Linked DNA regions of Homo sapiens: all the other regions are linked to region 3. Evidence: promoter capture Hi-C in 16 types of primary human blood cells and fetal thymus (Javierre and others, 2016). All regions are on one chromosome and are shown on one strand. The core of a region is centred on a gene start or on the middle of the fragment in contact, and the rest is flanking DNA. Distances in the headings are between cores, read along the strand shown. Region 1 has its middle 16 kb from the start of OTUD6A. Region 2 overlaps EDA (ectodysplasin A). Region 3 holds the start of NALF2 (NALCN channel auxiliary factor 2). Region 4 overlaps IGBP1 (immunoglobulin binding protein 1). Region 5 holds the start of IGBP1 (immunoglobulin binding protein 1). Region 6 has its middle 20 kb from the start of IGBP1.

Region 1 (3,874 bases), core at 644-3,143, 570 kb before region 3:
TTGCAAAATGATGTAAAACCCAAAATCCATCATGGGTCTGAATTCAGGAAAGAAATTATTGCTTTTTAAAATGTGACTTTATTATTTCTGAGAATCACTGCTTTCCTTGAAAGGGGTGGGATGTACATACGATAAAAAGATAGGCTACGAAATCCAGCCAAATAGTTACTTACTGGAGAACTACAGGAAGAAGGATGCAGAACTCATTACAGCCAGAGTGCCAGAGCCCTCCCTGCACTGTCCTGCTGAAGCTCTTGTCTTACTGTTATCAAGTGAATCATTCTGAGTTTGGCGGCAATATTGTTTGCTGAGGGTTACTGCTGGATGACTCTTGACACATGCTTGGCTTGCTACTAACTTTATTAATTTTAATTATATATATTTTAAATTTTAACCATATTTATTATTTTGAATAAGCAATACATTCACACCCTGCCCCTTAGCCACTGAGTTTGTCTTCTTGTACTTTCTTATCTTTTCTAAGATAGTCTGTTCTCTCTCTCTCTCTCTCTCACATTCTCTCTCTCTCTCTCTCTCTCTCGCTTGCGCACACACACACACACACACACGCACACCTCTTTTTAGTTTAGCTCAGAGGTACCAAAAACCTTTAGTGTACAAAGGTTGTATACATGAAACTGGATATACTCTACTTGATAGACAATTTAAGGGATTTTATTGGGAGGAATGGACAATTTAAGGGTTGAGGGGAAGGGTCTTGCTCTGTTGCCCAGGCTGAAATGCAGTGGTGCAATCACGGTTCACTGCAGCCTCAACCTCCCAGGCTCAAGCTATCCTCCCACCTCAGCTCCTCAGCTCTCCAAATAGCTGGGACTATAGGGACATACCACCACACCTGGCTAATTTTTAGATTTTTTTTGTAGAGACGGGATCTCACTGTGTTGCCCAGGCTGGTCTTGAATCCCTGAGCTCAAGCAGTCTTCCTATCTCAGCCTTCCAATGTGCCAGGATTACAGGCGTGAGTCACCGTGTCCGGCCCTGATTTAAGGGATTTTTAAGGGCCTAAGTTTCAGTGAACCATTTCCAGAATTACTTAGAAACCAGGGAATCACCAGGATCACCTCTGATCCTGGCTTTACCCTTAATCTCCACATAAATGCTAATTCTATTCCTAATGTTCACGACTTTGGTCCCCTCCTCTCTCCCTGCTGCCACTGCCCCAATCCAGGTCAGCATCATCTGTCATGAATTAAAAGAGAAACCCTCAATTCATCTTCTTCTCTTCAATCTCTCCTTGCAATTCATTATTTCCCCCAAATGTCATCCTTTGTGTCATTCCTAAAGCATAGCTCTGATGTCTCATTTCTTCTGAAAACATTAACTTAATGGATTCCATTGCCTATATTGTAACATTCTAAATCGTCAGTAAAGAAGAGTTTTTCCTGGAAGGGTGAGCAAGTTGCAGAAAAAACATTATCTCTTATCTCAGGTATGGGGTGGTCGCTGAGTCAAGGCTCTACAGAAAAGGTAGCTCAAGAAGTTGCTGTGGGGGCTGGTCCTTATGATAAAAAACTGAGTACTCTGTGTACCCTCAGTAATGATTGAGGGCTAGAATATACCCTGAGTAACCTCTTCTTGGTTTCCAGGTGGCTGAGAATTCTAGAAAAAGTTGCTTCGTGCACATAGATTTGGAACATTGGAAAATGCTGTTGTTGCTACCCATTTCCTTCCTCCTTTCAAACAAAATTCTGATTGGGATTTTCCAAGAACTGTGAACTCACCTGCAATTCCAGGAAGGCCTTAATAGCCTCTTCCGAGGAACTGATTCAATATGGTGATTTTCCAAGGTGGCTTCAAAGGGAACAGCCTGTAGCAATTGCAGCAGTCCTGATCCGAAGGTTAAGATGGACCAAGGTTCAAAAAAAAAAAAAAAAGCAATGAAGCATCCGGGTGCGGTGGCTCACGCCTGTAATAGCACTTTGGGAGGCCAAGGCGGGTGGATCACCTGAGGTCAGAAGTTTGAGACCAGCCTGGCCAACAGGGGGAAACCCCGTCTCTACCAAAAAATGCAAAAGTTTCCTGGGCATGGTGGCAGGCGCCTGTAATCCCTCCCTACTCAGGAGGCTGAGGTGAGAGAATTGCTTGAACCCAAGAGGCGGAGGCTGCAGTGAGCTGAGATCGCACCACTGCATTCCAGCCTGGGCGACAGAGCGAGACCCCATCTCAAAACAAAAAAGCAACAAAGCTCATGCACCCATCATATCCTGACTTTTCCTCTGATTGGATGAGCCCAGGCCACGAGCTCATCTTTGTAAAAAGTGAAGTAGAGGTTCCTCTTCAAAGAGACTTTCCTCTCCGTCTAATTAGGAATAAATAGTAACTTCTCTTAGAAGCGAAATTTATTCAAATAACTGTGCTAACGTTTTAAAATATCCGCTAGCCGTAATACAGAAATCAATGTACTTTGTGTTCTTAGCTCCCACAATTTAGCCTAAATATTTGCCCTGGCATGCTTATACTGGTCCAAGCAAGCATTAGGTCATAGCCCGTTCCCCTTCCTTATTTGGAGGAGTTTTTTACCTTTCTCAGCATTCCGCAAGTTACCTCTTCCTTCCTTTGTTCTCTTCTGCCTTTGCCTCTTTTAAAAAGTTCTAAGTTGCTAGCCAATTGGGACAAATACAGAATGTGAGGTCCTGTTGCAGCCAGTGGAAACCGGTGACAGCAGTAGGGTGAATGCGTCAGGTTATAAATGACCCTGTCTCTTTTGTTCGGTATACTCTTGTGGCAAAACTGCTGGCGAGTGTGCCCTTTCTGCAGAAAGTAAAAATGGCCTTGCTGAGAGAATTAAATTTATGTTCAAGTGCTATTTCTTTGTGGCACTGGGGAACAAACATTCTATTTCTAAATAAACATTTTTACATATAACATCGTGAACCAGTCACTGTGGCCAGGGAGAAGAGGTATTTTAATTGGCAGGCCTAAGGGGGAGGGCCCTGGTGAACCCCTTTCAACTTAAGAGGGTGGGAGAGAGTTGGTGCACCAAAGGATAAGTGGGGGCTTTTGCAGGAATAGTGGGCAATGGATGCTGGAAATGTGAACAACTGTTCTCTACATGTGTCTCGCAGACTGTCATCTTTGTGTGTTTGCCTAATGGGGTTCCCTCTACCTGGAATGCCCTTGCCTTCAGCATTGCCCACCTAAATCTAAGCTGGCCTTTCAAGTCTCCCCATTTCCCTTGCTCTGTGATTCCTCCACCCCAAGCTGGCCCAGGGCATCCCCACTTCATTTCCTCATCTTCTTATTGGACCACAGCACTTACTGTTGGGCCTTGGATTGGGGGTCACTTGGATTTATGTTGGTCTCACCTCTGAGGCTAGGCCTCCTTGGAGAGCACCAAGGCAGTCTTAACTGTTTTGAGGCCTTCCTGGGCCCCAACCCAGCAAGCAGTGCCTGTCATTGGAGATACTTGATACATTTTGTTTAACTGAATAGGCTACTTAAAGAGAACAAGCTGTTTTTAAGCCCCCTCAAATATTTCAAAAGCACTATTTACACACTTGAGAATGTGTTCCAGTCACTCTAGGCTATTCATTAGAATAGGTCCCTTAAGCAACTCTCCAAGTTGGGCTGAAGTAGCTGATTTGCACTTAGGAAGGGGGATTGGAATCAACATTGTAGTCGTGGTGTCTCCACCTCAGGCTGCTTCTTCAGCTCAACAAACTCAAGACTGATCAGGGCCTGGTTGCGGATTAACATTTATGTGGTTCTAGAAAGAGGACTCAACTGGGCCAAAGCAAACCTCTGTCAGTGGTCCTCCACCTCCCAAGCTAGCCTTCCCCATTACTTAGGGCTGTCTGCTTCCTCTGGTTCACTCCTCACCTCCATGCAAAAGAAATCTCTTTTGTTTTCTAAA
Region 2 (4,092 bases), core at 857-3,356, 510 kb before region 3:
TGGCATACAGTGTAAGACAAAGAGTTAACTAAAATTTTTATATTTTTTCCCTAAAATGCCCATGACATGAAGAGTACCAACAGAAACAGGGCTCAAAGTCATTTCTTAAACTTTTATTTTAGTTTCTGGGGTACATGTGCAGGTTGGTCCTATAGATAAACTGTGTGTCACAGGGGTTTGGTGTATATATTATTTCATCACCCAGGTAATAAACGTAGTACCCAATAAGTAGTTTTTTGATCTTCACCCTCCTCCCACTCTCCACTCGCAAGAAGGCCCTGGTGTCTATTGTTCCCCTCTTTGTGTCCATATGTATTCAATGTGTAGCTCCCACTTATAAGTGAGAAGATGTAGCATTTGGTTTTCTGTCCCTGCATTAGTTTGCTTGGGATTACAGCCTCCAGGTCCATCCATGTTGCTGCAAAGAACATGATCTCATTCTTTTTTATGGCTGCATATTATTCCATGACATGTATGTACATTTTCTTTATCCAGTCTACTGTGCTGCATAGTATTCCATGACATGTACGTACATTTTCTTTATCCAGTCTACCGTTGATGGTCATCTAGGCTGATTCCACATCTTTGCTATTGTGAAGAGTGCTGCCATGAACATACATGTGCATGTGTCTTTATGGTAGAACAATTTATATTCTTTTGTGTATATACCCAATAATGAGATTGCTGGGTTGCATGCTAATTCTGCTTTAAGTTCTTTGAGGAATCACCGCACTGCTTTCCACAATGGCTGGACTAATTTACACTCCCACCAGAAGTATATAAGTGTTCCTTTTTCTCCACAATTTCACCAGCATCTCTTATTTTTTGATTTTTTTAGTAATAGCCATTCTGACTGGTGTGAGATGGTATCTCATTTAGTTTTGATTTATATTTCTCTAATGATCAGTGATGCTGAGCATTTTTTCATGTGCTTACTGCTCATGTATATGTCTTCTTTTGAAAAGTGTCTGTTTATGTCCTTTGCCCACTCTTTAATGGGGTTGCTTGTTTTTTTGCTTGTATATTTGTTTAAGTTTCTTATAGATACTGGATATATCTTTGTCAGATACATTGTTTGCAAATATTTTCTCCATTCTTTGGGTTGTCTGTTTACTCTGTTGATAGCTTCTTTTGCTGTTTTGCTATGCAGGAGCTCTTTAGTTTAATTAGGTCCCATTTGTCAATTTTTGTTTTTGTTGCAATTGCTTTTCATGTCTCTGTCATAAATTTTTTTCCAGGGTCTATGTCTAGAATGGTATTTCCTAGATTTTCCTCAAGGGTTTTTATAGTTTTGGGTTTTAAATTTAAGGATTTAATCCACCTTGAGTTAATTTTTGTATATGGTGTAAGGAAGGGGCCCAGTTTCAATTATCTCTGCTTATGGCTAGCCAGCTATCCCAGCACCATTTATTGAATAGTAAGTCCTTTCTAGATCGTTTGTTTTTGTTAATTTTGTCAAAGATCAGATGGTCATAGGTGTGTGACATTATTTCTGGGCTACCTATTCTATTCCATTGTTCGATCTGTACCATACTGTTTTGGGTATTGCAGCCTTAACATATAGTTTGAAGTCAGGTAATATGATGCCTCCAGCTTTGTTCTACTTGCTTTGGATTGCCTTGGCTATTCAGGCTCTTTTTTGGTTCCATATGAATTTTAAAATAGTTTTTTCTAGTTTTGTGAAGAATGTCATTGGTAGTTTGATAACAATAGCATTGAATCTGTAAATTTCTTTGGGTATTATGACCATTTTGACAATATTGATTCTTCTGACGCATAAACATGGAATGTTTTTTCCATTTGTTTGTGTCATCTCTGATTTCTGTGAGCAGTGCTTTGTAATTCTCAGTGTAGAGGTCTTTCACCCCTTGTTTAGCTGTATTCCTAGGTATTTTATTCTTTTTGGGCTGTTGTGAATGGGACTGCATTCTTGTTTTGGCTCTCAGCTTGGATGTTGCTGGTGTATAGGAATGCTACTAATTTTTGTACATTGATTTTATATCCTGAAACTTGCTGGAGTTGTTTATCAGATCAAGGAGCTTTTGGGCAGAGACTATGGGGGTTTTCTAGGTATAGAATCATATTGTCTGCAAAGAGGGATAGTTTGACTTCTTCTCTTCCTATTTGGATGCCTTTTATTTCTTTCTCTTGCTCGATTGCTGTGGCTAGTAGTTCCAATACTGTGTTGAATGGGAGTGGTGAGAGAGGGCATCCTTGTCTTGTTCTGGTTCTCAATAAGAATGCTTCCAGCTTTTGCCCATTCAGTATGATGTTGGCTGTGGGTTTGTCATAAATGGCTCTTATTATTTTAAAGTACGTTCCTTCAATGCCTAGTTTGTTGAGGATTTTTAACATGAAGTGGTGCTGTATTTTCTTGAAAGCCTTTTCTGCATCTATTGAGATGATTATGTGGTTGTTGTTTTTAGTTTTGTTTAGGTGGTGAATAATTTTTATTGATTTACGTACATTGAACAAACCTTGCATTCCAGGGATAAAGCCTACTTGATTGTGGTGGCTTAGCTTTTTTGAGGTGCTGCTAGATTCAGTTTGCTAGTATTGTGTTGAGGATTTTTGCTTTTATGTTCAACAAGGATATTGGCCTGAAGTTTTTTTTGTCTCTGCCAAGTTTTGGTAGCAGGATGATGCTGGCCTCAGAGTGAGTTAGGGGGAAGCCCCTCCTCCTCAACTTTTTGGAATAGGTTCAGTAGGAATGGTACCAACTCTTCTATGTACATCTGGTAGAATTTGGCTGTGAATCCACCTGGTCCTGTGCTTTTTAGTTTCTTAGCAGGCTATTTATTACTGAGTCAATTTTGGAGCTCATTATTGGTCTGTTCAGGGATTCAATTTCTTCCTGGCTCAGTCTCAGGAGGTTGTATGTTTCCAGGAATTTATCAGTTTCTTCTAGGTTTTCTAGTTTGTGTGCATAGAGGTGTTTTTGATAGTCTCTGATTTTTTTTTTTGCATTTCTGTTGTATTGATGGTAATGCCCCTTTTGTCATTTCTGACTGTGTTTATTTTGATCTTCTCTCTTTTTTTCTTTATTACTCTAGCTAGTGGTCTATCTTATTTATTCTTTCAAAAAACCAAGTATGATTTCATTGATCTTTTGTATGTTTTTTCACATCTCAAATACATTCAGTTCAGCTTTGATTTTGGTTATTTCTTGTCTTCCGCTAGTATGGGGTTGGTTTGCTCTTGTTTTTCTAGTTCCTCAAAGTGTGATGTTAGGTTGTTAATCTGAGATCTTTCTAACTTTTTGATGTGGGCATCTAGTACTTAGCACTGCTTTAGCAGTGCCCGAGAGATTCTGGTAAGTTGTATCTTTGTTTTCATTAGTTTCAAAGAATTTCTTGGTTTCTGCTTAATTTCATTATTTTCCCAGAAGTCATTCAGGAGCAGGTTATTTGTATGGTTTTGAGTGATCTTCTTGGTATTGATTTCTATTTTTATTGTGCTGTGGTTTGACAGTGTGGTTGGTATGATTTCTGTTTTTCTTTTTTAATTTGCTGAGAATTGTTTTATGGCCAATTGTGTGGTCAATTTTAGAGCATATGCTATGTGCAGATAAGAAGAATGTATATTCTGGGTTTTTTTTTAATTGGTAGAGAGTTCTGTAGATGTCTGTTAGGCTCATTTGGTCAAGTATCAAGTTCAGGTCTGAAATATCTATATTAGTTTTCTGCCTCAATGATCTTTCTAATACTGTCAGTGGGGTGTTGAAGTCTCCCACTATTACTGTACGGTTATCTAAGTCTCTCTGTAGGTCTCTCAGAGCTTGTTTTATAAATGTGGGTACTCCTGTGTTGGGTACATATATATTTAGGATAGCTAGGTCTTCTTGTTGAATTGAACCATTTACCATTATGTAATGCCCTTCTTTGTCTTTTAAAATTGTTGTTGGTTTAAAGGCTGTTTTGTCTGAAGTTAAAATAGCAATCCCTGTTTTTTTTTGTTTTTTTTTTTCTTTCTCCATTTGCTTGGCAGATTTTCTCCATCCCTTTACTTTGGGCCTATGAGTGTCACTGTATGTGAGATGGGTCTCTTGAAGAAAGAAGTTGGGTCTTGCTTCTTTATCCAACTTGCCACTAT
Region 3 (3,767 bases), core at 841-3,340:
TCCCCACTCATGAGGGAGCAGGGCGCCAGGAAGCCCCAGGCCTAAGGTGCCCAAACCCGGAATTAATAGAAGTTAGCCAGGTGGTTACCTGACCTGAATCCCTGAGGCCTCTTCACTAGGGAAGGTCCCAGGGTGGCACTGGTAGTGCTGCACTGGGCACGGTGGGAGTGGTGGGGTGGGTAGAAAGGGAGACTTCCTTTTTTCTCCCGGTCCCACTGCGGCCGCTGCCGCTGCCCAGGGCGGCTGCTGTGGCTGCGGAAGCCAGTCCTTACCTTACAGCCTTTCGTGCAGGACCGGATTGAGTACTCTTCCGCCTGTAAGTATTTATGCAGCACGAGGTCGAACTCGTCATATTTTTCCTGAGCGTGTCGGTCCAGCCGCTGGTACGCCTCGATACAGTTGCTACACGCCTCCCAGGCCCCGGAGCCCGGGCTGGCCACCACGGCCAGCAGGTCCCCCATCAGGGTGTCCAGGCTACAGTCCAGGCTGTCGGGGCGGTCCATGCCCAGCAGCAAGTCCCAGACCGTGTAGGTGTCGCAAAAGGAGAGAGTGAAGTTCCGAAAGTGGCCTTTGAGCAAGTTTTTTTTGGCGGAGGGGAACTCGGCCGGGGCACGGGAAAGGGAGTCAGGGGGCCGCAGAGGGGGGGCCGGAGTAGTCGGTTCGAAAAGTCTCTGCAAAGATTGCAATTTGGTGCAAGCTGCGTCCAGCCCCGTGGGCTCTGGGACGCCGCCGCAGACCGGCCGAGAGCCGGCGGCGGGGGCGGCTTTGGTCAGGTTGCTGTATCTGGGGCCGCAGGTGCCTGGGGGCGCGCTGGGCTCGCCGGGCGGCGGCGGCGGCAGCGGCAGCACCGCGCGAGGAGGCACCGGCTGCCGCTCCCGGCCGGCCCCCCATGGGGGCCGCATGGCGCTGCTCAGCTCCCTGGCCCGGGGCCGGGCCCCCGCGCACAGCCACAGATGGTCAGCGAGCAGCACGGTGAAGAAGAGCAGGGACGCCAGGGACAGTCGCCATCGCTGCGCCCGCTCGGAGTCGGCGCAAGGTTTGTCGCTCGGCCTGGGAGCCCAGCAGCAGCAGCAGCAGCAGATAGTCAGCGCGGCGGCGTCTTTCCCGGGCCACATCCAAGCGCCCCTGAACATATTTCAGGGGGGTCCGGGCTGGAGGGAACAGGCAGGCGCGAGGCCAGACGGCCGTCTGGGGCGGGCGGGCTGCGCGCCGCTCTGCGCTCCTCGGCGCCGTCCAGGCTCTACCTCGGGGGCTGCATGGTGAGGCAGGCCGGCCGGCGCGATGCCCCGCTCAGGCCGGAGTCGCGGGGCGCTCTGGTGCCGTCTCCGCGCCGCTCCCGCGCTCCGTCGCTCTCAGCCCGGGCGCCGCCGCCCGGCCCGCTAGGCGCTGCCCGGCGTCCCGGCTGGGGGCGGTGCGGGGCACTGGGGCGGTGGCGGCTGCGGCGGCGGCGCCGCACTCCTCATAGTGTCGGGCCCCTCAGCTGCCCTCGGCTCCGTGCCACTTCACTCCGCGCCGGCGGCCGCCCGGCTCGCACTCCAAACCGGCCGTCTCGGTTCGGCGCAGCTCTGCGCCCCTCAGCGCCGCCGTGCGGGCCCCGCCGCCGCGCTCCGCTCCGCTCCCCTCGCCCCGCGCCGCTCCGCTCCCGCCCGTCCGCCCGCTGCCCGCTCCACGCCGCTCCCTGCCTCGCTCGCGCCCTCCTAGGCCGGCCGGCCGGTCCGTTGCCGGGCCCTTCGGGCTTCGTTCGCGCTCCGGGTGTTCGCCGGGGCCAGTCCCTGGCGGGCTCCGCTCTGGCTCCGCACCCGCTGCTCCTGGAGTTCCGGCTCGGGCGGGCCACCTGGCTCCCGGCAGCGCCACAGGCGCCGGACGCAGACACCGGGCTTTACTTAGTGCGCCTCTCGCTTCCGCCTCTCGTTCGCACCGCTGTGGCTGCAGCCCAGCGGCACGGCCCCGTGGCTCCCGCTGGCCATGCACCCTCAGTCTGTCGCCATCTTCCGCTGTGCGGAGAACACCTTGAGAGCCCCTGTGCAAGTGTGTTTGGCGGGGAGCAGGGCGGAGAAAGAGGCACGGAGAGGAGGAGGGAGCGGGACTGGTGCCCCGACTGCGCCTGCGCCTCAGGACTCCCCCCACCCCACCCCGCCCCAGCCCCCGCCGGCCGCAGCCGGTGCTGTTTGGGGATGTTTCCAGTCCACCCCCAACTCCATTCACTTCAGCGCCTCCGTTCATCCGCCCGCTGCCCGCGTGCACATGCCACACGCTGAGTCCCAGGCCTCGGCGCTCCCCCTCCCCCACTAACCCGGGCGCCCGCCTTCCTCTCCATGGCCGTCCCTCACTCCCCCGAGGGCTAGGGGACTTCTGAGGGTGATTCTTGGAGGCAAGGAGCAGCAGGCATCTCGTAGCTGCTTGCTGCCTCTCTGGGTCGCCTCCGCCGTCCCCGTGACTGGAAGACGCTCGAGCCGGCTGCGGATCGGACCAGTCCAGTGTCCCTAACTCCACCTTCGCCCTCACCGTCCTGCCCGAGGACAAGGCGGCCCTTGGTGCTGAAGGACAGCTCCCAGCTTAGCTGCTGAGGAAGACTGAGTTTGGAGAGCGTCCTGGAGGGGGCAAGGCGGTGGGCTAAGATAGTAGTGGTGGGGTGTCGGTGTTTGCCCTTAGGAATATTTCCAGCAGCCTCCACCCCCCACCCGCCCGCCCCCCACCCAAGCACCAGCCCCCGTCCTAGCTTTTTGGCTCCCCCTACAGGCTGCTGAGAATAGCTGACTGAGAGTTAGAGAAGCTGCGCCGCCCGGATGGAACCATGTGCTTGGGCCCTCACAGAGTCACATGGCACTAGGAATTCGGACGTACAAACATCCTGACGCGCCACTAACCTTGTTTGGACTCCACTGACCCTGTGGTCTGCTTGCCTTCCTCACTCCCAGTAACTCACATTGTAATTTTTTGTCAACCGTTGCCGGCAAGCATTTGTTAATGTTAAGAATAACAATAAAGAAAATAGCCTTAATTGAGCGCGTACTATGTGCTAGGTACTGCTCTATACATTTTGCATGCATTCGTCATCCAATCTTCACAACAGTGTTATGAGATAGGTACTACTGTTATCTTCATTTACATACAAAGAAGCTGAGGTTTAGTGTGGTTGTTGCCTAAAGTAACCAGAGCAGCTAAAAAAGAAACTCAGTCTGACTCTAGAATTCTCTTAACACTCCAGTAAGGCCCTGGAAAGATGAAAGAGCCAAGGCATTCCTTCCTTAAAGGAAATTATAGTCTATATAAGGAAACAAGACATGTATATTGGCTAGTGGGAGGATTCATGAACTAGAGCCTTGGATAAATAACTCAACTGCTGATATGCTGTGTACCCTTGAGAGTCTTTTCCTTTTCTGAGTCTTGGTTTTCCCCTGAGTAACACGAAGGGATGCCAAGGATCAAATGAAATGGGTGGGCATCGTTAGCACTACTCAGAGGTGGACTGGGGTGGGTACATAAAAGGTTTCTGGAAGAGGGACAAATGGAGCTAGTTTCTAAAGTAGCAGGATTAGGGTGGGTGGTTGAGAAGGGCATTCCAAATAAAAGGAATGCAGATGAAAAGTTTCAGGGGTAGGGAGCAGCTTTGTATGTTTGTGAAGCCACGAGTGTGGCAGTTTGGCTATATTGATGGTGAGAATTTGTGGGGAAGGGAGTAGCAGGAAATGAGACAAGGGACAAAACTGTCAGGCATTTGGGAGGCCTATTTATTCATTATGTTACAAGCACTGTGCTAGGGGCTA
Region 4 (3,720 bases), core at 1,032-3,531, 650 kb before region 3:
CTGGTGCCTGAATTGCCACTGTGCCCTGCTCCCTGGGGTCTGAGCGTCTGGAACACCCCTCCCTCCCCAGAGCCATGCCAGTACTATGCCCTGACCCCCAGGTTAGGAATCACAGCTACGTCCCTGCCCCTGGGCCCGAGCTACTGAGAAGTGCCTCAGAGTCATAGTCCTTGCCTTGGTGGGAGAGCAGCATCCACCTGTGCCTGAGACTGAACCTGCACCCATGTCACAGGTCCCGCAGCAGTTCAAGAAGACACTGGACCCAGGACCAAGCTCCACAGCCACCCTGAGCACCCGTGCCTTGGAACACAGCACTGCTGTGGCTGCCTGTGGGTCGCGTCACACCCAACACCAAGAGATTCCCCCCGCGCAACTTTTTTAATCCCAAGAAACTTTCCTTAATATTAACTTTTAGCATTTATTCTTTTTCCTTGCTTTGGCTTTCTTCTTCAGATAATCCTATTATCTATATGCCAGGTCTTCTTTACTATCTTTAGTATATGTCACTTTTCCTCAAACCCTGTTTATCTTTTTTCGTTTTAAAATTTTCCTTCCTTTTACCATAGTAAGGCATTTTCTGTTGTGTTCACTCATTCTTGTTTCCTTCTACTTTAGCCTATATTTCTGAAATGATTCATGTTCCCCAAGCTGTCATATTTCTGAGTTTTTCTAATCCTGCTTTATATTGTCCTTCCATGTCCTATGTTATTTTCTGAATATCTTCCAACTCTTTTTTGGATACCATGTTTCAGATTTGTTCTGTTTTTTTGAGCGTGTCTTTCTGTAGTGTTTTTCTCTTCTAATAACTTTGTGTAGGGTTTGACTTTGATAATTTTCTGTTCCCTTTTTCTCAGCTTTGTGCTGTATTTCACAATCCATAAAATCTACCCACTTAAAAGTATACATTTCAGTGTTTCTTTTTGTTTTTTTATTTTTTGAGACAAAGTCTCACTCTGTTGCCAGGCTGGAGTGCAGTGGCACGATCTCGACTCACTGCAACCTCTGCCTCCCAGGTTCAAGCCAATTCTCCTGCCTCAGCCTCCCAAGTAGCTGGGACTACAGGCACGTACCACCATGCCCGGCTAATTTTTCTTTTTTTTTTGTATTTTTAGTAGAGACGGGGTTTCACCATCTTGGCCAGGCTGGTCTCAAACTCCTGACCTTGTGATCCGCCTCCCAAAGTGCTGGGATTACAGGTGTGAGCCAACAGTTCAGTGTTTTATATTCAGAGTTGTGCAACCATCACCACAATCTGTTGTTCATTTTTACGTGAAATGTTTTCCTAAACTTGTAGAAAGAAGCATGGTTCAGAGTAGCTTTTCTAACTTCATAAGGGCTCCCTTTCTGCTGTTTTCATGTGAATTAAAGAAATATGATTACTTGCTTGATTGGAGTTCCTGGTTCTGGTCCTCTCTCCTAATTTCATCTGGACCTTTTCTTTCTTTTTCTATTCCTGTCCTGCTTAATTTCAATTCTACTCTCAGCAATTTCTCCTCAGTGTGAGTCCCTGTCCTGGAAGGGAGACCGGTGGATCAACTTCAAGAGTTCACTAAGGACTAGACTACTCTATCGCTTTCAGACCTTCTGACTATTGGACCCTCATACTCATCCCTCCCAGTTTCAACTGCAGTTCTTAAATTGGACTGCCATTCTTTCTAGGGAATACACTGTTTTGGAATTCTGTTTGTCAAGTTTTTCAGATGGCCTGTCAACTCTGGTTTTCTCCTGCACAGATGCCAATAACTGCTGGATCTTGTGGCTATGGGTAATTTGCCCTTACCTGTTTTTATTGTGAGGTTCATGGGGATACACTGCCACCTATTTTCATTATAAATATTGTCCATGGGTTTTTTCACATTCACTGAAGTGCAACATACGTGTAGAAAAGTATACTAACATTTGTATAGCTCAGTGACCTCTCACATATTGAACACATCCATGTAATCAGTACCCAGATGAAGATACAAAATATTTCTAACTCCTCAGAAGACCCTGTAGGTCCAGTTCCATTCATGATCCCCAACTAAGGGTGAACACTTACTAGCTTTCAACCAGCACACACAAGTATCACCTGTTTGTTGAAGTTTGTATGAATGGAATCATACAGTATATACTCTTTTGCGTCTGGCTTTTTTCACACGATTCAGCTATATTTGTCACTTATAGCAAACAAACTATAGTTTAACCTTATTGCTACATAGTTTTCCATTGTGTGAATATACCAAAATTTATTCTTCATTCTATTATTTATGGGCATTTGAGTGGTGTGTATTCAGTGTGGACTATTACAAATAATGCTGCTATGTTCAATCTTGTACAGGTCTTTTGTGGACATATGGTCTCACTCCTCTTAGGTATATACCGAGTAGTGAAACTGCCAGGTCATGGGAGTATACACGTGTCCAATTTTTGTGCATTACTACCAGAACCATGACCACCCCTAGTTTCCCTGCCTTTATTTCCTTTCATCTATTTACTTTGGGCTTTCTTTGTTCCCTATGCCCCCACCCCCACCCTTGTTAAGGTAAAACCTTAGGTAATTGATTTTATCTTCCTTTTTTCTAACATAAGTGTTGAAAGTTACACACATTTCCATCTCAGCATTGCTCGAGTTGTATCCCATAAATTCTGATGCTGTACTTTCACTGTAATTCTGTTCAAAGTATTCTCTTTTATTTATTTTTAAATGGGCAAACATATTTATTGTGTACAGTATGTTTTGAAGTATATATTATGGGATAGCTAAATCTAGCTAATTAAAAGATGCAGTACCTTACACATTGTTATTTTTGCAGTAAGAACACTTAACATCTACTCTGTATTTTATTTTCATTTTTTTTGAGATGGAGTTTTGCTCTGTTGCCCAGGCTGGAGTGCAATGGTGTGATCTTGACTCACTGCAACCTCTGCCTCCCAGACTCAACCGATTCTCCTGCCTCGGCCTCCCGAATAGCTGGGATTACAGGCGCCCGCCACCACGCCCGGCTAATTTTTCTATTTTTATTAGAGACGAGGTTTCACCATGTTGGCCAGGTTAGTCTTGAACTCCCAACCTCAGGTGATCCACCCGCCTCGGCCTCCCAAAGTGCTAGGATTACAGGCGTGAGCCACCGCACCCAGCCATTAACGATAGTCACCATGCTGTATAACAGATCTCTTGAACTTATTCCCAGTTAGAAGTATTTTCTAATTTTCTTTCTAATTTCTTCTTAGACCTATAGGTTATTTAGAAGTGTACTGTTTAATTTTCAAATATTTGAGAATTTTCTAGGTACATTATTGATTTCTAATTTAATTCCATTGTGGTCTGAGGACATATTCAGTGTGATTTCAATTTTTGAAAATTTATTGAGACTTATTTCATGGACCAGTATATGATCTACCTTGGTGAATGTTCCATGGGTATCTGAAAAGAAGGTGAAGGCATACCTCGTTTTATTGTGCTTCACTCTATTGTGCTTTGCAGAGACTTTTTTTTTTTTTTTTTTTTTTAACAAATTGAAGGTTTGTGGCAACCCTGCAGCGAGCAAGTCTATTGGTGCCCTTTTTCTAAGAGCATTTGCTCACTTTGTGTCACTGTGCCACATTTTGGTAATTCTCAGTTTCTCAAACTTTTTCATTATTTCATTTGTTATGGTGATCTGTGGTCTTTGGTATTACCAGTGTAATTGTTCTGGGGCACCACAAACCATGCCCACAGAAGACAGAGAACTTAATGGG
Region 5 (4,230 bases), core at 362-2,861, 630 kb before region 3:
GCGGACAAAACCGGAAGAAGCACCTCATTGGTCCAGTAGCTTCACTGTTAACAAAGCATCAAAGGACTTCCGGGAGCCGCTGTTAGCCGGCCCTGGCAACCGTTTCCATAGACTCATTTTACCAGGCAGCCCGTTACAAGTCGTAGGCATCTGTTAAAAGCAAACAAACAAGCAAAACCCTAGGCGCTGTTTTACCATGAGCTCCTCGTCGCCGACACGGGGCTGAGAAGTTCTGTGGGCTCTGAAGCCCGGGTGAGGCGAGGCTGAATTCGGAGCGCGAGGAGTGCGGACGAGCGAGTGCGTTTTAGGAGCCAGTCTGGCGCGCCCCTTACCTCGCGAGTAGCTCCCTAGGTTGAGGAGTCCAGGGACTCTAGCCGCCGCACCACTCCCACGGTTTGAAGATCCGGTCGCTTGAGCGCGAAGTGCAAGTAGCGCCCCCCTGCGGTTTCCGTCCACCCACCAGATGGAGCTCCGGGTTCCTCCCAGCCAATCCTCTCCCGTCCTCTTCCCCCTTCACCCCACACACGCCTACGACCCGTAGGCCGGCGTCCGGTGGAGCCCCCCTCAGCAAGATTGGCAACCTGCAACTCCGGTCACCGCACAGCCGGCTTCCCTTCGTGCACTTAGTTCCTACATCAAATGTTATTTCTGTGCAACCTTCCTTGTCTCTCTACCGCCTTCCACCCTGTGCCCTTCAGCCGCCAAGTCTGGGTTTCTCCTATGCATCTCTATCATGGCACCTACCACGCTGTATAATTGCTAGTGACTTACAAATCTCTCTTATCAGAATGAATTTGACTCATCTTTGCACCACTCTGGCTAGCCTGAGTACTCAGTATCAGTCATTATCTGAATAAAAAAAAAAAGTGATCAGTTTGGAAAGCAGCCAACTTATGCAGAACAGCATTGTTCAGTAGGTAGTTACTAGCTACATGTGGTTACTAAGCACTTGAAAGTGGCTATTTTGAATCGAGATGTGCTGCAAGTGTAAAAAACACCCCAGATTTCAAAGACATTTAAAAAAAAAAGAATGAAAAATGTAAATACTTTTTACATGGACTACATGTTGAAATGATAGTCTTTTGGATATGTTGGATTAAATATATTATTAGAATTAATTGTACTTCTTTCTTTTCACTTTGTAAATGTGCCTGCCAGATAATTTAAAACTATATTTGTAGCTCCCATTATATTTCTACTGGACAGAACTGATGGAAAACATAATTTCAGGACTTCAAAGAAGGGACGTCATTGTTTTGAACAAAGCAATATAAATACATACTGATTACCTTAGGACGCAGCCTGAATTGTCCTAGGAGATTTAAGTAGCAGGCACACTGTCTACCCCTGAAAATAAACTTTTAAACTAGTATTTTAAACTACATATCGTTGAGAAGAAAAAAAGCTTCATTAAAAAACAACTAGAGGGCAATATAGGACAGTATAAAATAGGTGATATGTTGTATTGCACAGGCTGTTGGAAAAGCAAGAAAGGGCAAGTCATCCCATGCTAGGAGTAGTTCAGAAGGCTTCTTAGACATGACATGCGGTCACATAGAAGAATGTCAAAGTTTAAAGGGAACCCCCAAAATCGGAGGAAAAACTTGAGACCAGAAAGGTTAAGGGACTTGTCCAGCCAGTTTGTGACAAAGTCAGTGACTTCTGCGTTCAATTGTTTCTACTCCATTAACCTTCAGTTGGGTAGGATTTAGAAAGATGAAGACCTTTAATGTGGGACAGATTGAAGCCCCAAACTAGAACAGTGCTTCCTAAGAGGGAGAGGAGGCTGTGGCACACATGTAGGTTGAAAAAGCTTCCCAGGTGATTCTAATAAACCTTCCCTTGCAACCCCTGCTTTATAAACTAAGAAGGAAGTGAGGCTTTGGCGAATTACCTATTTGGTTTATCTGGCACCTCTAGTAAACTGACCTTTCAGGGTCAGGCTTGGCAGGGAATATAAAGAAAAAGATAGTACTTGTGGAGGAGACTTAGAAATGTAGTAATTGTGAGAGTAAAGATAATTTGCTTCTCTGCATTTGCTTGGATTAAAACATGTCTTTACTGTTACTTAAGAGGAAAAAAATGTGCACAGTCTTAATTTGGTCTTAAACTTTGTAAGTCATTTTTTATGGCTTTCAAAATTAGTCTTTTTTTTTTTTTTTTTTTGAGACAGGGTCTCACTCTGCCACCCAGGCTGGAGTGCTGGAATGCATTGGCACGATCTTAGCTCACTGCAAACTCCGCCTCCTGGACTCAAGTGATCCTCTACCCTCAAGCCCCCCAATTAGCTGGGACTACAGGTGCAAGTCACCACTCCTGGCTAATTTTTGTATTTTTTTGTAGAGGCGGGGTTTCGCCATGTTGCCCAGGCTGATCTCAAACTCCTGAGGTCAAGTGATCCACCCGCTTCACCGTCCCAAAGTGTTGGGATTACAGACGTGATTCAGTGTGCCCAGCCAAAATGACGGTCTTTATGGGAGATGCCAATTACTTTCAGAGTGCCTGTTATATATTAGAGTTGTCATTTTAAGCATTGCATTTCATCTTATTCTGAAAGAATACCAAGATTAAAAAGTGGTTAGAAAAAAAGGAATAATGGCCGGGCGTGGTGGCTCATGCCTGTGATCCCAGCACTTTGGGAGGCCGAGGTGGGCAGCTCACCTGAGGTCAGGAGTTCAAGACCAGCCTGGCCAACATGGTGAAACCCTGTCTCTACTAAACATACAAAAATTAGCTGGGCATGGTGGCGCGGGCCTGTAACCCCAGCTACTCCGGAGGCTGAGGCAGTGAGCCGGGAGGCAGAGGCTGCAGCGAGCCGAGATCACACCACTGCACTCCAGCCTGGGCGACAGAGCGAGACTCTGTCTCACAAAAAAGAAAGAAAAAAAGGAATAATAAAAACGAGTCGTTTGCTGTGTTTTGTGTGTAAACACTTTATCATATTAAACTCCTGTTGTGCATGGGAGACTTTTTAAAATCCTAGTTTAGGGCACTTAACAATCATGAAAGTATAACGGTACTTAAACTTTTTGTAGTAGCATAATTCTTTTTCCAAAACAAGTTTTAGAGAGCCTGTAATTTCTAAAAGGACTGATGTATTTGAAGAGGATACAAAGAAGCCTGCCAACTCAGCCACTGGCCCATCTTCCTCAACCTGCTCAGTGAGTGGCACTCCAGGTGAGGGACTCAAGGGCTCTAAGTAACACAATATAAAAAGCATTAATCTGGCCAGGTGCAGTGGCTCCCGCCTGTAATCCCAACACTTTGGGAGGCTGAGGTGGGAGGATCCCTTTAGCCCAACTCTGCTACTGAATAGCTGTGGGACCTTGGAGAAATTCCTTCCTTTGCTCTTTCCATACATGCTGTGTGCTACCTGAATGCTAGGCATTGAGAATTCGAACACTACCCGAGGTTTAAGCTCTTAAGGGGTCCATAGTTCCACGGAAGAGACAGGTAAACAAATAATCAAATGTTAATTTGATAAATATTTTGATAAAGGTGTGTTCAAGGTGTTAGAGGAATGGAGAGAATAACTTTGGCCCGGAGGGGCATTCTGTTAAAGGTCAAACTCAATAACATGACTTTAAGATCCTTTCTAATCTGCCTGCTGACATCCTTTTCATTTTGTTCCTTCGTGGATCCTAAGCTGAATCTTTAGCAAACTCTCCTAGTTCTCCAAACCTATCATGTTCTCTTAGGCCTTCATGCATTCACATAGGTGGTACCTTCTGCCTGGAATGTCATCTTCCTTGTCTGTGCCTGGCAAATTTCTATTCATTACTCATAACTTGGCTCAAAGATCACTTGCTCTGGGAAGCACTTCCTGATTTTCCCCTGTAGGCGAGGCTACCTCCTTCTTAGCTCTTATAGCATTTGATTCATCCCCCTGTGATAGTACTGTACTGTGGTTATCTTTATCCACACCTGTCTCTCACTAAACTGAGAGCTCTTTAAGGCCAGGGAGAGTGTCTTACTCATCTTTGTTCACTCTAGCACAGAACCTGCCACCCAGTAGGTAGGAGAGACTCAATGTTAAATGAATAACTTTGTATCATAATAATACCTAACCTTCTCTGAGCGCTCACATCCTGCCAAGTGACTATGCTAAGTACTTTACATGTGAAGGAGTTCAGGAGATGCCATCCCAAAATATGCCACTTTGGTATGCTGATTATTTGAACCAAGGGCACTTGGGGAACAGTGGATACAGGCAGAGGCTGTCTCTGAGCT
Region 6 (4,235 bases), core at 1,294-3,793, 610 kb before region 3:
TATGCCCCCTCCTTCTTGGTGAAAACTTACATTCTTTCTCTGTGCCTTTGAGATGTAATTTTCTACTCTGTCTTATCCAAGAACTATCCCTTTTGAAATGCAAACTTTAGGAAGATGATTCTCAGCAATAAACAAACAACAACAACAACAAAAACCTGAAAAATCTTTTTTTTTTTGTTTTTGTTTTTTTTTTTTGAGACGGAGTTGTTGCCCAGGCTGGAGTGCAATGGCACGATCTCGGCTCACTGCAACCTCCACCTCCCAGGTACAAGCGAGTCTCCTGTCTCAGCCTCCCAGGTAGCTCGGATTACAGGCATGTGCCACCACGCCTGGCTATTTGTTTTGTATTTGTTAGAGACAGGGTTTCACCATGTTAGGCTGGTCTCAAACTCCTGACCTCAGGTGATCCACCTGCCTCGGTTTCCCAAAGTGCTGGGATTACAGGTGTGCACCACCGTGCCTGGCCTGAAAAAAAATCTTAAAAGTCTTTTCTATTAACAGTAAAAAGCTTTAGCTGGCTGGGTGCTGTGGCTCATGTCTGTAATCCCAGCACTTTGGGAGGCTGAGGCGGGCGGATTATCTGAGGTCAGGAGTTGGAGACCAACCTGGCCAACATGGGAAACCCCATCTCTACTAAAAACTACAAAAATTAGCTGGGCGTGGTGGTGGGTGCCTGTAATCCCAGCTACTTGGGAGGCTGAGGCAGAAGAATCCCTTGAACCGAGGAGGCAGAGGTTGCAGTGAGCCGAGATTGCATCATTGCACTCCAGCATGGGTGACAGAGTGAAACTCCATCTTAAAAAAAAAAAAAAAAAAAAAAAAGCTTCAGCCATGTGAGCAGGTAACCTTAATTTGTTCTAATTTTGGGGGTCAGAAACACAATTTACATAAAAATATATGAGGGGATAAACCAGTGAGTTTATATTACTATATTTTACTGCCTCATGACTAAAACTTTTAAAGTAAAATGCCATAAGATCTTTATTTGTGTTTGTTTGTATGTCTATGTATGCTTATGGATGTGTGTATACAAGCATGTTTGCATGTTATGTCTACATGATATAAAAATCTCTTAATTTTTTGTTTGAGATGGAGTCTTGCTCTATCACCCAGGCTGGAGTGCAGTGGTGTGACCTCGGCTCACTGCAACCTCCGCCTCCCAGGTTCAAGCGATTCTCCTGCCCCAGCCTCCAGAGTAGCTGGGATTACAGGTGCATGCCACCACGCTCGGCTAACTTTTGTATTTTTAGTAGAGATAGGGTTTTGCCATGTTGGCCAGGCTGGTCTCAAACTCCTGACCTCAGGTGATCCACCCGCCTTGGTCTCCCAAGGTGCTGGGGTTACAGGGGCCTGCCACCAGTCCTGGCTAATTTTTGTACTTTTAGTAGAGACTGGGTTTCGCCATGTTGGCCAGGCTGGTCTTGAACTCCTAAGCTCAAGTGATCTGCCCACCTCAACCTCCCAAAGTGCTGAGATTACAGGCATGAGCCATCGCACCAGGCCCATGGTATAAAATCTCTTAAAGGAGTTCTATTCAAATTGGCTGTAGACATTGGTTGGGAATGGTGGCCCATGCCTGTAATCCCAACTCTTTTGGGAGGCTGAGATGTGAGGATTGTTTGAGCTCTAGAATTCAAGACCAGCCTGTGCAACATAGTGAGACCTTGTGTCTACTTAAAAAAAAAATTAACAGGGCATGGTCGTGTGTGTCTGCAAGTGCCAGCTGCTTGGGAGGCTGAGGTGGGAGAGTCGCTTGAGCTTGGCAGATGAGGCTGCAGTGAGCTGTGATCGCACCACTGCAGTACATCCAGCCTAGCTGAGAGAGCAAAACCATGTCTCAAACAAACCAAAAACCAAATTGGCTTAGAGGTAAATGAGTGCTTATATAAATGAAAAACTAAAACTGCTAGAAATATGATAACTAACTCAAATATTTTTCAAGTTTATGTGACTTGGGTAAATCTTTGGTAAATAAGACTAGCTTGTTACTGTTGGTTTAATGAAAACAGCTGCATCTTCTGAGCTGTCAACAAGAAACAAACCAACAAACAAATTAAAAAAACACCCATGTAATTTGCTTTGGTGATGACTGCCTGACATGCATATGCTGTAAAAATAGTTAATAGTGCCCAGGCACAGTGGCTCATGCCTGTAATCCCAGCACTTTGGGAGGCTGAGGCTGGTGGATTGCTTGAGGTCAGGAGTTTGAGATCAGCCTGGCCAACATGGTGAAACCCCGTCTCTACTAAAATACAAAAATTAGCTGAGTGTGGTGGCGCACACCTGTAATCCCAGCTACCAGGGAGGCTGAGGCAGGAGAATTGCTTGAACCCAGGAGGTGGAGGTTGCAGTGAGCCAAGATTGCACCACTGCACTCCAGCCTGGGCTACAGAGTGAGACTCTGTCTCAAAAACAAAAAAAGAAAAAGTTAATAGTGAAATAACTTGAGTTGATGGCTAGTTTTGTCTAATGTCTCATGAAATTTTCATGAGTAATCCAAACATGATTGTTAAGAATGAGTAAATTAAATAAGATGTAAATAAAATTTATAAATAAACTTAAACAATAATTATGTTTTATTATATGTTTACTTAAAAAGTTTCCCAAATCTCTTTGGTAACTCCTACCTACAGAGTTTTGCTAAGTTAAATTGAATGGTGGCTATTCACTGAACATCCAGATCATTTCCAAATAAGATAAAATACTAAAACATTAATTTCTGAACATAAGTTTATTTACTTTCGGCTTCTTGAATTCTATAGAAGTACAAAATATATTTTGGATCTGTTAGTAAGTATGTCCTGTTCCACAATGAAAAATTGTTCTAGCAGAAAACATGTTTGCAAAAATTATGAAATGTGTATTAATAAAGTGCTAGTACATGACAGTTCAACATTGCTTACTTCCTAGGTTTACACTAGGAATTAGGGTTACTGTATTAGTCTGTTTTCACACTGCTCTAAAGAACTTCCCTGAGGCTGGGCAATTTATAAAGGAAAGAGATTTAATTGACTCAACAATTCCACATGGCCGGGGAGTCCTCAGGAAACTTACAATGAGGCACCTTCTTCATAAGGTGGCAGAAGGAAGAAGTGAGAGTGCAGGAAAAACTGCCACTCTAAAAGCCATCAGATCTCGAGGCTGGATGCAGTGGCTCACGCCTGTAATTCCAGCACTTTGGGAGGCCAAGGTGGGCAGATCACTTGAGACCAGGAGTTCGAGACCAGCCCGGCCAACATGGCGAAACCCTGTCAACACTAAAAAAATACAAAAATTAGCCAGGCATGGTGGTATGTGCCTGTAATCCCAGCACCTTGGGAGTTGGAAGCAGGAGAATCACTTGAGCCTGGGAGGTGGAGGTTGCAGTGAGCCTAGATTGAGCCACTGCACTCCAGCCTGGGTGACAGAGCAAGACTCAAAACAAAACAAAAAAAATCAGATCTTGTGAGAATTCACTCACTATCACAAGAACAGCATAGGGGAAACTGCCCCCATAATCCAATCACTTCCCTCCCTGGACACATGGGGATTACAGGTCCCTCCCCTGACACCATGGGGATTACAGTTCCAGATGAGATTTGGGTGGGGACAGGGTCAAACTATATCGGTTACTAAGACTTAAAATCCTAACATGTAATCAAAACTACTAGAAATAAGAGAACATTGTATACAAAATGTACAAAGAAAGATGATCTACGGTATGTGAATGTGTTTTTTTGTTGTTGAGGGAAAGCGTTAGAAATGCTTGTTCCCTGGTGCTGCAAAGAAATAGCACTTGAACATAAATTTAATTCTCTCAGCAAGGCCATTTTTACTTTCTGCAGAAAGGGTGCCTCTCACAGATGGAACAATGGTGATAGCACACTTGAACAAAGGAAAAGAAGACATATTTATCCCTTACACATTTGGGTTGTCCTTACTGCTGTGTCCTGCATCCATTGGCTGGAGCTGGACCTCACAGTCTTAAACTGATACCCGATTTGCTGATAGCCTAAATCTTTCCTAAATAGGTAAGTGCAAGGGGGAACAAAGAAGGAGAGGAAGTTGCTTATGAAAGGTTTAAGGAAGCAATAACATTTCCAAATGAGGAAGGGCTGTAAGCTATAAGCTAAGACTTGCCTGGGCCTGTCCAGACATGCCCGGGTAAGCCAAAGCAGCTAACGGGGCTAAAGTATAAGAACTGATAGTTGATAGGAGGCTTTAGAGTAAGAAGCTATTATTCCTAGTGTCTATTA

The links. Contacts are between HindIII fragments. The CHiCAGO score rates a contact against its expected background, and 5 or more counts as called.
Region 1: a fragment that was not itself captured here is called in contact with the fragment with the promoter of NALF2 in region 3 in 8 of 17 cell types (naive CD4 T cells, naive CD8 T cells, non-activated CD4 T cells and 5 more); the score reaches 7.6 in naive CD4 T cells.
Region 2: a fragment that was not itself captured here is called in contact with the fragment with the promoter of NALF2 in region 3 in 1 of 17 cell types (M2 macrophages); the score reaches 9.4 in M2 macrophages.
Region 4: a fragment that was not itself captured here is called in contact with the fragment with the promoter of NALF2 in region 3 in 1 of 17 cell types (total CD4 T cells); the score reaches 5.3 in total CD4 T cells.
Region 5: a contact is called between a fragment that was not itself captured here and the fragment with the promoter of NALF2 in region 3, in 7 of 17 cell types (M2 macrophages, naive CD4 T cells, M0 macrophages and 4 more). The highest score is 11.2, in M2 macrophages.
Region 6: a contact is called between a fragment that was not itself captured here and the fragment with the promoter of NALF2 in region 3, in 4 of 17 cell types (M0 macrophages, naive CD8 T cells, endothelial precursors and 1 more). The highest score is 7.5, in M0 macrophages.

The regions. Positions count from the first base shown.
Region 1 is chrX:70,076,425-70,080,298 of GRCh38, reverse strand. No RefSeq gene overlaps it. Among named protein-coding and RNA genes, the nearest start is that of OTUD6A, 16 kb to the right of the region's middle. The HindIII fragment of the contact is 4,007 bases long and covers 1-3,874 here.
Region 2 is chrX:70,015,920-70,020,011 of GRCh38, reverse strand. The region is part of intron 2 of EDA (ectodysplasin A); the gene reads right to left. Among named protein-coding and RNA genes, the nearest start is that of MIR676, 4.9 kb to the left of the region's middle. The HindIII fragment of the contact is 4,558 bases long and covers 1-4,092 here.
Region 3 is chrX:69,502,649-69,506,415 of GRCh38, reverse strand. NALF2 (NALCN channel auxiliary factor 2) reads right to left here and starts at 2,090. Exons shown (of 3, transcript NM_015686.3): 1 at 273-2,090. The coding sequence starts at 1,133. RefSeq lists an enhancer at 1-32 and a silencer at 964-1,137. The HindIII fragment of the contact is 10,696 bases long and covers 1-3,767 here.
Region 4 is chrX:70,156,060-70,159,779 of GRCh38, reverse strand. All of the region lies in intron 6 of IGBP1 (immunoglobulin binding protein 1), which reads right to left. LOC107985683 (a long non-coding RNA gene) reads left to right here. Exons shown (of 2, transcript XR_001755877.2): 1 at 1-3,720. Among named protein-coding and RNA genes, the nearest start is that of DGAT2L6, 20 kb to the left of the region's middle. The HindIII fragment of the contact is 7,472 bases long and covers 1-3,720 here.
Region 5 is chrX:70,129,643-70,133,872 of GRCh38, reverse strand. IGBP1 (immunoglobulin binding protein 1) reads right to left here and starts at 426. Exons shown (of 7, transcript NM_001551.3): 1 at 333-426; 2 at 1-150. RefSeq lists an enhancer at 1-7. The HindIII fragment of the contact is 408 bases long and covers 1,408-1,815 here.
Region 6 is chrX:70,111,239-70,115,473 of GRCh38, reverse strand. No RefSeq gene overlaps it. Among named protein-coding and RNA genes, the nearest start is that of IGBP1, 20 kb to the left of the region's middle. RefSeq lists an enhancer at 3,492-4,235. The HindIII fragment of the contact is 3,435 bases long and covers 826-4,235 here.